Regions from separate parts of the Homo sapiens genome. Here region 2 is linked to region 1. The links are contacts of gene promoters, found by promoter capture Hi-C in blood cells and fetal thymus (Javierre and others, 2016). All regions are on one chromosome and are shown on one strand. The core of a region is centred on a gene start or on the middle of the fragment in contact, and the rest is flanking DNA. Distances in the headings are between cores, read along the strand shown.

Region 1 (5,083 bases), core at 1,986-4,485:
TAAAATGTGGAAGTAACTAGTATGTTTTTATGGGGAAAATTACAAAATAAGTTTACCAAAATAGACTGGATCACTAAAACAAGAAGAATGGTTTGGCATATATAACTTTTAAAAGTATGGTAACAAAACAAACTGTTAAGTTCCATTTTACCTGGTATTATCTGTTCCTTCTGATTAAAAGAATTAGATTTGAGAAAATCACATCTATCTCTTGAGTACAAATTAGCTATCACTTTTTAGATGACCATGCCATTCTTCAGTTTTTGATATAGCTTCCAAACAGAAGTTTCAAAATGACTCTGCCTAGCAAACACATCACTGTACTTTAAACAGAGTGATGTTTTCTATCCCATATTTTCGGAAGGTTAAAGCACACACAGAGGCAAGAATCATGACAGACAGCAGATCCTAAGAGAGTTTATTAACTCTTTAGGTAGATTAGGCAACACTTGTTTTTAAACTAACTACAAATCAAAGTCTTTTTTTTTTTAAATGATTCAACATTACTACCATGCTACCAACAGATACATAAGGGAGAGAAAAAAAAAAGGGCTGCCTGTTCCGAACTCTGCTTACCTAAAATTTGCATCTAGTCACGTGCCATTTTTAGAAGATGTCCCCTTCTGAGATAATCAAGATACTTGTACAACAGGGAATTTAGACTTAATTACCAAACTTTAATACCATGTTATATAGGTCAAGTGAGTATGTATACCTTTCTCCAGAAACAAAGGAATTCCGAATAATAGGATTTCAGATTTAATTGTAGAATTAGCAAAATGTTTTGAGAATGTCATTTACCGCAACACAAATCAATATTAAATGCTTTATGCAGGAAGCACACTTTCAGAAAATGGGCCGTAAAGCTTTCTGGGATCCGACCCTAATTACTAGAGCAGGCTCTTGCCGTTTGTCTCTCTCTTCAATTATTTACAGGGCAAAAAAGCCAAATGGCATTGCATTAGCTACATTAAATGGTATGGACTTGGTTTCTAACTTACTAATGGTATATAAAAATTACTAAGGTAAATGTGCCTGTAGAAACATGGCTTTTTTTCTTCCTCACCTGAGTGGGTGTATTTATTATTCATATTGTTAAGTGTTGAATAAGCTGTCCTTTAGGCACCCAATGCTGCATAATTTAAACAAGTGCATTAAATATATAAGATATCTAAAAGGTAGTGCATTGATTATGCCACAAAATTTCTTTGAACAGCTACCATGTAGCTCACAGAAAACTAGCATCTCCTGCAAGTTCCTAAAACAAATACTGTGAGAACTACACAGAGATGAATAAGGGGTATCCTTGCTGCTACCATCTTGCTGCTTTCTGGTGACCCAAAGTAAAGTGGGAATTGGGGGAAGTGAAAATGAGGCCCGGGATTGCTAGGACATTTCTGGTCTCGAAACTGACAAGTGTCCTTTTTACGTAGACAAATACAGGGCTATGTCGTAAGTACATGAAAACGTGGACCACACACATTCTAAGAAAGAAAAGGCTGAATCAGAGATTCTTTGTACCAGGCCGGAAATGCCCAACTACCAGCAAGCAGAGCATGATTACAACCTCCCAAAGAAAGTTCGGACACTGCATCCATACCTGATTCTTTTGTGATCTAGAAGGGCACCCAGAGTTGTGATAGATGTTAATGGCTGAAGAAGGCTGCTGCGTCCAACTTCCACCCTCCCAAATTCTGGCGGCTGCTTCCAAAGCAGTGAAATTTCCAGTCTTCATGGCCCAAATAATTTTTTTAAATGAGTTCGGGAGGCATCAAATTCTTATTGTAAAAATAAGATAGGCCCACTAACAAAGTACCCAGGGTCCCTAGAAAGCCAGGCGCAATTTGTATGGCTACATGTCATCAACTGTTGTTACCCAAGAGTGTGCCGAGGTCACTTTTTAAAAAGCAACATTGGAAATCGATCTGTGGCAAACATATAAGCTAGTTTTGTTTTTGTTTCTTTTTTAACCAAATACGAAGTCACTTCTTTCTCTGCACTGAAATCTGCCCATTGTCCCTCCTTTGCAAAACCTCTAGAGATTAGAAGGGACATCAATGAACGCGAGTGAACTTTGGCCACTTTTCTACCCAAAACACCAGCGTAAAAGTAGAAATCAGTAACCAGGTGAAGTGCCACACCGCACAAAGATCAGAGGCGAGGGGCGGGCGCTCAGGGCCGGAGGCGGGGAGGAAAATATCCCGGCCCCGCCGCCCCTCCAGCCCCAGTCATCGCGTGCGCGGGAGGTGGAGGGGCGTCCCTGGGGGGCGGGAGGCTCCGCGCCACGGCGAGGGGAGCGAAGAGTTACAGCTTACAGGGCGAGGCCCTTGGAGAAGGGGTCGAAAAGCCGGGCCACCAGCGGATCCAGACGCGCACACCAGGCGACGGCCGCCGGCCAGCCAGGGCTCGGCGAGGGGCGCCGCTCGACCCCACGACCCTCCCCGCTGGCCGGGCCAGGAAGGGGCTGGTGGCTCTTTCCTGTCTAGTCTCTCCCCCCGCGGCTTTCTGTAACCCGATCCCCGCACTCCGCTCCCAGGGAAGCCGCCGCCCCGCGCGCCGCCCGGCTCTGCCCAGGCCAGCGCTATAGTTAGCAACCTTCCAGCAACTCCGCCCGGCGGTGGCGGGGGTTCGCCGCGCGCCCCCCTCCCCAGGCCTGACCCTGCGCGCGTCCCCGGGCCCCCTCCTCCGGCCGTCACCTCTCCCCGGCGCCCCTTTACCTTGGCTTGCAGATACTGGGGGTAATAGTAGGTGGCGTACTGAGGGTACATCTGCTGTTTCCACACTTTGCCCATGAAGCTGGAAGGGAGCCTGCCGTGCAGGGTCGCGGACACTTTGGGGTTTCCAAGTCTCGGGCTCTCCTGCCTCTCCCTTTCCGGCGGCGGCGGCAGCGGCGGCGGCGGCGGCGGCTGCTGCTGCTGCCGCTGCTCCACCTCCCAGCCGGGACCAGACGTCCTCCTCCTCCTCCTCCTCTTCCTCCTCCTCCTCCTCCTCCTCCTCCTCTTCCTCCTCCTCCTCCTCCTCCCAGGCAGAAAGAAAGACACTGCAGAGCGCAGAGGGCACCCCGGACAGGGCGCTCCCAAGGAGTTTCCTCCCGGAGCCCGACTGCTCCGGGGCTGCCAAGGGCTGGCGCGCTGGCCGCGGTCCGCTCGGGCGAGCCGGCTGCGCGGGGCTGAGAGGTGATCAATACAAGTGGAAAGTGCGGCAGCGGCGGCTGCGCTTGGTGCCAGGCGGCATCTGGGGTGGGTGCGCCCGATGTGGAGAGAGGAGAGGGGCTGGCGTTCCGAGGCCGTGGGGGAAGGGCGGGCGGGGGCGGGGCCTGGGCGCCGCCGAGCCCGGGACCCGCTGGAGGTGAGGGCTGAGTTTTAACCACTCCTCACCTCCCAGGCTCGCGGTTGGACGGGCGGAAGCCCTGTGAGTCCAGATCGCTTTGTGTCGGGGGTGGGGAAATGGGAGTGGGAGTGGGGGTGGAGGGGGAATGCGGGGGGACCCAGCTTAAGAACTGCAGGGCGGGCACCTCTTTTGCTTTCCCGAGTTTTTATCTTCGTAAGGGGGAGGGGAAATAAGGGAAAAGAGGAAATCTGATTAATCGTTCACTTCCCACCGCCCAGTAATTTTTTTTCACAAGGGAAGGAAAATGATTTAATGCCCAACAAAGCTGGAGTCTGGACACCTGGGTTCTGTTCCTCCCACCCACCCCCGACCCGGGGCCACAAGACTAATCTAGGTGACCTTGGGAGGGTTAGCGTCCTTCGGTTTGGTTTTCCCAGATGTGAGACGTGAAATCATGCCCCTTGCACAAGGGGAGGCAAAGCACATACATACATACACACACACACACACACACACACACACCCCTCACAACATATAGACGGATCCTTCTAAGAGGGGGATGCCGCAAAGAGGCAGAATGTTATTAGAGGACACAATATAGACATCAGCTTTTCTCTGCCTCTTTCTAATGCTGCCAGACAGTCTGTCAACTCCCACTCAGGAGCAAGGAAACTCCCTGAGTTTGGAATATTTTAAGGCCATTTTGAAAGTCACGCTGGCATATTGTTGCAGTGTGCTTCAGTGACATATAAAATCAATCTCTCTTTCTGCCTCTCTCCATCTCCTAATTGTCACAGCTCTAGACAGCCTCAGACCAGCAGTGGTTCAGTTCACTACATAACTAGATATAATTTAATGGAATTAATTGGTCCCCGAAGCTGCCTGCAGAAGACTTTTATATTCCAGCTCAAAAAGAGAGCTAATACCAAAATGTACATACGGATAGCATAGGTAAGCAAGCATCCTCAAATTAGGGTTCCGGCACATCTAATAAAATGTAATAAAAAACTGTGTTTGTTATTAAATAGACCTTGTTTACTTTGTCATTTTGGTTTTTGAAGAGTCTTTTGTTAATAGCACAAGGTAAATTAAACTCAACTGGAATGCATTATTTTGTTAAACAGTTATTATTTTTATATGATAACATTTTAAAATAGGTTTAGTAAGATACTTTAAAACAATGACAAAATAAGGACCTGAAACCCTTATAATCGTTCTATGGTTTAGACAAATTTCTAGATCTTACATGTTTGACAAAAACAAAATAAATATAAGTATAGGTGAGAACATTTTGGCTCTGCCAGGAGGCAAATCATGTCCCTCTCATTTACCTATGTAAAAGCCTATAAGGAAGCTAATATTTACTATGTCTGCTATATTGTAGGCACTGTTGAGGTGCATGCAGACCTGAAAAGTGGAATGGGTCACTGTCAGACTAGGGGAGCCTAAAATATTTCCCATATTGTTTCAATGTGGGGCCTTTTAATGTTTTTAAACAGGGAACTGACATGAACTAAATTGTGCTTTAGGAAGACTAGGAATGATGGTTTGGAAGAGTGACAGAAGGAAGAGAAGTAAATCGAGAACAATCGCAGAAGTTCTAGGTTTGAGGTAATAAGGGAAACTACCAAACTTAGACTGTTCTACTTACTGTTTTTTCTGGATGATGGAAATTCAGCCTGTTTTAGAGAGCCCAAAAGCAGACCTACACTTGTATAGACACTTGATTTATGACTGAGTTGGTATTATAGCG
Region 2 (5,330 bases), core at 75-2,574, 260 kb after region 1:
TTTAGGGACTGTCAGTGTTGTTCTTTGGAAATTACCCATTTGAACACCTCAGAAAATCTGATGGATAAAACAAAAAGTCGAGTCTCTCTCCAACCCTTTTCCTTCGGTGTGAAACACTGGTGAATCATTCCATGGAAAATAGGAAAAATAGTAAAGAGGCTTAAGTTGTAAGTTACAAATCTGACTTTAACCTTCAAAGAGAAAGAAAAATAGTTTCTGGCTTGAAAAAGAACAATTATGCACACTTGCCTGTTTTCAGGCTCAATTCCACAAGCCCTTAGAAGATAAATCCAACTATAAATTACTATGTTAATGGACTTAGAATCCGAGTGGCACTGCATTGTTTGCTTTTTGTTTCTTTCTGCACTTGATTTGTGTTTAAAGAAGGCTTATTCCACCCTAACAAATTTATATAACGGATTTCAATGTATGTCTCCCTAATGTAAAATGATTTTTTAAAAGTACGACATTTAACAAGTAGTTTTATCTTCAAATAGCAAATATATATGTGATACATAAAACAGCAAACCAGTAAGTATTAAAGCAGGTACCGGGTTCTTCGTCACATTGTCTGGGATGCCCTTTGCGGCTTTTATTTTTTCTCTTTCTTGTTTGAGTCTTTTCAATGCTATTTTTTTAAAAACATGCAACATTGTTCCTACCTTGAAAGAGTTTGCAGAAGAAATAATGTTTTATTTTCATGTAACAAATGGAAAATAATCTAGGGCTCTTGTTTTTTAAACTGAAAACTGTAGAAATTTAGAGAGGGGCAAGGTCATTTTAGGTTATAGATATTTAATAAAGATTAACTAATTAATTAATACCCGTTTGTGAATGACCACTAGATAATGGTGAGGTTGGAACTAAGCATCGGAAAGCTGTAAAAAAGGCACTAAACAGGCATTCACTACAAGGATATGTAGGAGATGGGTGAGGGATGGGGGCAGGGTAGGCTGTGGTTGAAAAGAGCAAGTCCAAAGAATGTGATAAGATCAGAGAGGGGAGGTAGAATCTGGTGACAGAGAGACTGGAAGGAGTAAAGTGATGGTAATTTTCCTTGCCATATCTGGGGCAAGTAATAATTTGTGTCTTCAAAGGAGCTATTATTATTTTTATTGACAAGTGATTAAATCAGTAAAATCTCCAGTCTTTAGTAAAAAATAAAATCTGGGTTTCTCCAATTGAAAGAAAAAAAGATTTCCTGAGGTTTAAGCAAACACTGAGGTGAAAACTCCAGTTCTCTTTTTGGTCATGACTAAGTGATGAATCATTCTCTTCAAACATCACAATATGTATTAAATAGCATAAAAATATAATTTTCAGGCATCTTAAATATATGAAGAGCCAGTATTTCCAGCTCTTAGGAACTAAAATATGTATGGAAAGAGAATTTAAAAAAATACAAGCCTAGACAAATACTTTTTTCTCCTGCTTTCTAAGCCAATATAAAATTAGTGTAACTTTGGCTGAAAGTGGGGATTATGGGAAAGTGTAATACACACAAGATTAATTGGGTCACATTGCAAAATCCGATGACTGATTTGAACTTTCATGTTACCCAAACCAGTTTTGCTTGATTATTGAGAATCTTGAAGGTAGAAAAATCCAACTAAATAAACACTCAAAGATATTTTAGCATTTCTCAGTTTTTACTCTTACCTCAAGTTTTTCCTATGTATGAATTTAAGACCTTTAAACTTAGTTAATTATTATCTTGAAACTTATGTAAATGTGTGACTTCAGTTAAAAATACATTGCTAACTCATTAAAGGGAAATGACAAGAAACAGCATCATTTAAGTCAAGGGTTGGCAAACTTTTTCTTAAAAGGCTAGGTAGTAAATATTTTAGGCTTATAATCATTAATAACTCCACTGTTATAGAGTCAAAGAAGCTACAGACAATATATAAACAAATAAGTATACTGTGTATCAATAAAATTTTATTTATAAAAACAGGTGGTTGTCCCAGGGTCATAGTTTGACAATCTTTGATCTAAATATTGCCATCATTAAGGTAACTGGTAAGCCTCTTCCAAGCTGAATACCAGTATGAGCCCCCTCACTTCTATTTTATTACTATTTCCTGGGATGGGGAGTTGGTCCATGGAAATGGGACAATAGATGTTTTTGTGATAAACACTATTTTATTGATAAATGTTACTCCTTTTCAACTTTTCGTATTTTAATTTTTAACTCTGAAACATGTCAAACAGGTAAAAGAGTAAGAAAATAATATAACAGACACCATTATACTTACCACACTTATTTTACAGTCATGTTTTCATATTTGCTCCAGATTATTTTTTGAAGGAATAAAATATTACAGATACAACTAAATGCTTATTCCCATTCCATTCTCCTTTCTCTATGCCAAGAAATTAATCCTTCCTTTGTAGGTAGTCTTTTCTCTCTGTTTGCTTTTAGGATTTTCCTATTGTCTTTGATGTTCTGCTATCTGAGGATTCATATCTTTCATCAACTCTGAAAAATTATCAACAAATATCCCTTTGAATATTATATTTCCCCCATCTTCTGTGTTTTCTCTCCTTCTATAACTCCTACTTCAGCATATGTTTGATCTTCTATACTCTGTGCTTAAGCCTTTGTTTTGTCCTGTTTCTTTATCTCTTTGTGCTGCAATTGGGGTAATTTCCTTGTCTGCCTTCCATTTGTTAATTCCCTCTTAAATTGTCTAAGCTTTATGTCAACTAGCTTTTTTTTTTTTTTTTTTTTTTTTTTTGAGACAGAGTCTTGCTCTGTCGCCAGGCTGGAGTGCAGTGGCGCAATCTTGGCTCATTGCAACCTCCACCTCCTGGGTTCAAGCAATTCTCCTGCTTCAGCCTCCCAAGTAGCTGGGACTACAGGCACATGCCACCATGCCTGGCTAATTTTTGTATTCTTAGTAGAGACAGAGTTTCACCACGTTGATTGAGCAGGATGGTCTCAATCTCCTGACCTGGTGATCCGCCCACCTCGGCCTCCCAAAGTGCTGGGATTACAGGCATGAGCCACCATGCCCGGCCTCAACTAACTTTTATTCAAGGACTTTTTCTTCCTATCTAAAGGTCATTTTTCTTTTTCAAATTGATCATATATTTTTATAGTGTCATATGTTTTGATATTTATTTTTCCCTTTTTTACTCTAATCATTTGGTTTTATAGATGATTTCACATTGTTTGATTTGATTATATCATATTTGACAGTAAGGAGGAGTACATAATTCTTATATTTGTTGTGTGTGCTCACTTTCCACCATGGCTTAGAATTTATTTGTGTGTGAGAGTTTATTTAAACAGAAAAGTGTTCTTGTCTTAGCTTCATTTTTTTCCTATTGGAGTTCTTGCATACATAGAAGTTCTGGTTGGGAATGTTTTCATTTTTGTTTTTGCTGGATGCTCCAAGGATTTCACCAAACTTAGATAAGTCTTATTGTTAATTTTTCAAACTAGGAATGTCCATGCCCATAGATGACATAAATTTGGTCAGGCTTGGAGTTTTTAGTTTTCACAGGTGACTTTTTTTTCCTCTCCTCAGAATCCCAACAAAGACAAGTTTCCTTTTTGCTTTCTGTATCAGTGGGTAGAATTGTTCTTATCCCCTTTTCACTGAGGCAGCAGCTCTTCTCTTATCCCAGCTTTATGGTGGGCATGATGCTTTAGCTCCCCCACCTTTCCTGAGCCCAAAGCCATGTCTTCTGTACCTACATGGGCATTAAAAACACCTTTAGGTATACCTGAAGACTTAAATGTTGGGCAATTTGCCTCTTGTTGCTGAAGTCCTAGGTCCTGAATTTAAAGTACCTCCTATTTATCTGTCATTTTCTTGTTTTTGAATTCAGGTATGCCATTAAACATTGTTTTATTGAATATATCTAGCATTTATATATCTTCATAAATAAATGACAAAGCTCTGAGTTATCTTTGTCATATTGCTGAAACAACTCTTTAAGTTAGCATGGCATCATTCCAAGGATTTGTATAGTTATAGTATATATTTTTTAATTATAAAGCCATTTTGGGGGTGTTCTTTAACATCCTAAAGTATGCTTTCGTTCTTGACTACAAGTTATATGCACTCTTACAGAATTTGGGCTTTGTCTGAACAAAAAGCTTTGCTTGCTAACTATTTGATAATAGAGGAACCGTACAGAAGATTCTTGCACTTAAGACTCTATTTCCCATGAGTGTATAATATATAGTATTAAAGGTGTTATAAATACAACTCTCTTTAAAAATCTAATAGATTTTACAAATTTCTCTTGATACATAATTGGAAGTGTCATTTATCATTATGCCAAAAGAAAGCCAGCACACTCCATGATCAAGGATATTTTTGCAAGTATATTTGGAAATTTATTTTTTGCATTGTAGGAAAATGCATGGCATTTACACATTCACGAATAGCATACAACCACACTGCCAGAAATCTAAGTAGTTAATATGGCTTGAAAACAGATTTTGCATATTATATCTATAATTTTGCTAATTCCATCCCAAATAAGGATCAGTATTGCAGCTGAATTTCTGCTTCAGTTCATATTAAGGTGCTTTTTCCCAGTGTCTGAGCCACTATACCATAATCCTCTGAAGTTGTAAGCATATGTAAAAATTGCAAGGTGGTAGCCAGCAAATGTCCTTAATATCTCTTCTTCATAGTCATCCTACAAAAATAGGAGTTTTAGGAAATGCTACTGAATTCAATTTTCTTTACATGAGGGACTGTGATTAGTGAGGCACCATGTGCTGAAATGCTAAGCCTAAATAAATGTTGATGCTAGTGTCTTCCTGGAGGATGTAACAGAAAGAGTATAGTCCAGCCCCTTCCTCCACTCCCTATCAAGAGTTTATAGCATCTAATAAATATCACAAGTGTTAGCATTTTCACAATGGAAATTTAAAGATCACATGACAGCTTGAGTCATTTTGTTAATACCTTTATGTGCTCATTTTTGTCTGATTATGGCATGATAAAGCTGGCCACCAATCTGGAAAATTCAAGCCAACAGCCAGCTTTTCTGGCAAAGAGATTGGCCTAATCCTCACTTAGGAACATTTATTTTCAACTCAGCTCATTAGCTTTCCTTTTCCTCCTGAGCTTATCCTTTTGTGTTTTCTTGATCATTGAAATACTTCCCATGGAAATTCAGATTTCAGATTGTTCTACACAGAGTTGCAGAAGAAGCAGTGGATCTTTTATCATTTTATTTATTTATTTTATTTTATATTATTATTATACTTTAAGTTTTAGGGTACATGTGCACAATGTGCAGGTTAGTTACATATGTATACATGTGCCATGTTGGTGTCCTGCACCCATTAACTCGTCATT

What was found. Contacts are between HindIII fragments. The CHiCAGO score rates a contact against its expected background, and 5 or more counts as called.
Region 2: a fragment that was not itself captured here is called in contact with the fragment with the promoter of RBMS1 in region 1 in 1 of 17 cell types (monocytes); the score reaches 5.3 in monocytes.

Annotation. Positions count from the first base shown.
Region 1 is chr2:160,490,572-160,495,654 of GRCh38, forward strand. It overlaps RBMS1 (RNA binding motif single stranded interacting protein 1), which reads right to left and starts at 3,236. Exons shown (of 14, transcript NM_016836.4): 1 at 2,718-3,236. The coding sequence starts at 2,792. RefSeq lists an enhancer at 2,777-3,297 and a silencer at 3,484-3,663. The HindIII fragment of the contact is 13,330 bases long and covers 865-5,083 here.
Region 2 is chr2:160,751,701-160,757,030 of GRCh38, forward strand. No RefSeq gene overlaps it. Among named protein-coding and RNA genes, the nearest start is that of RBMS1, 260 kb to the left of the region's middle. The HindIII fragment of the contact is 2,743 bases long and covers 1-2,696 here.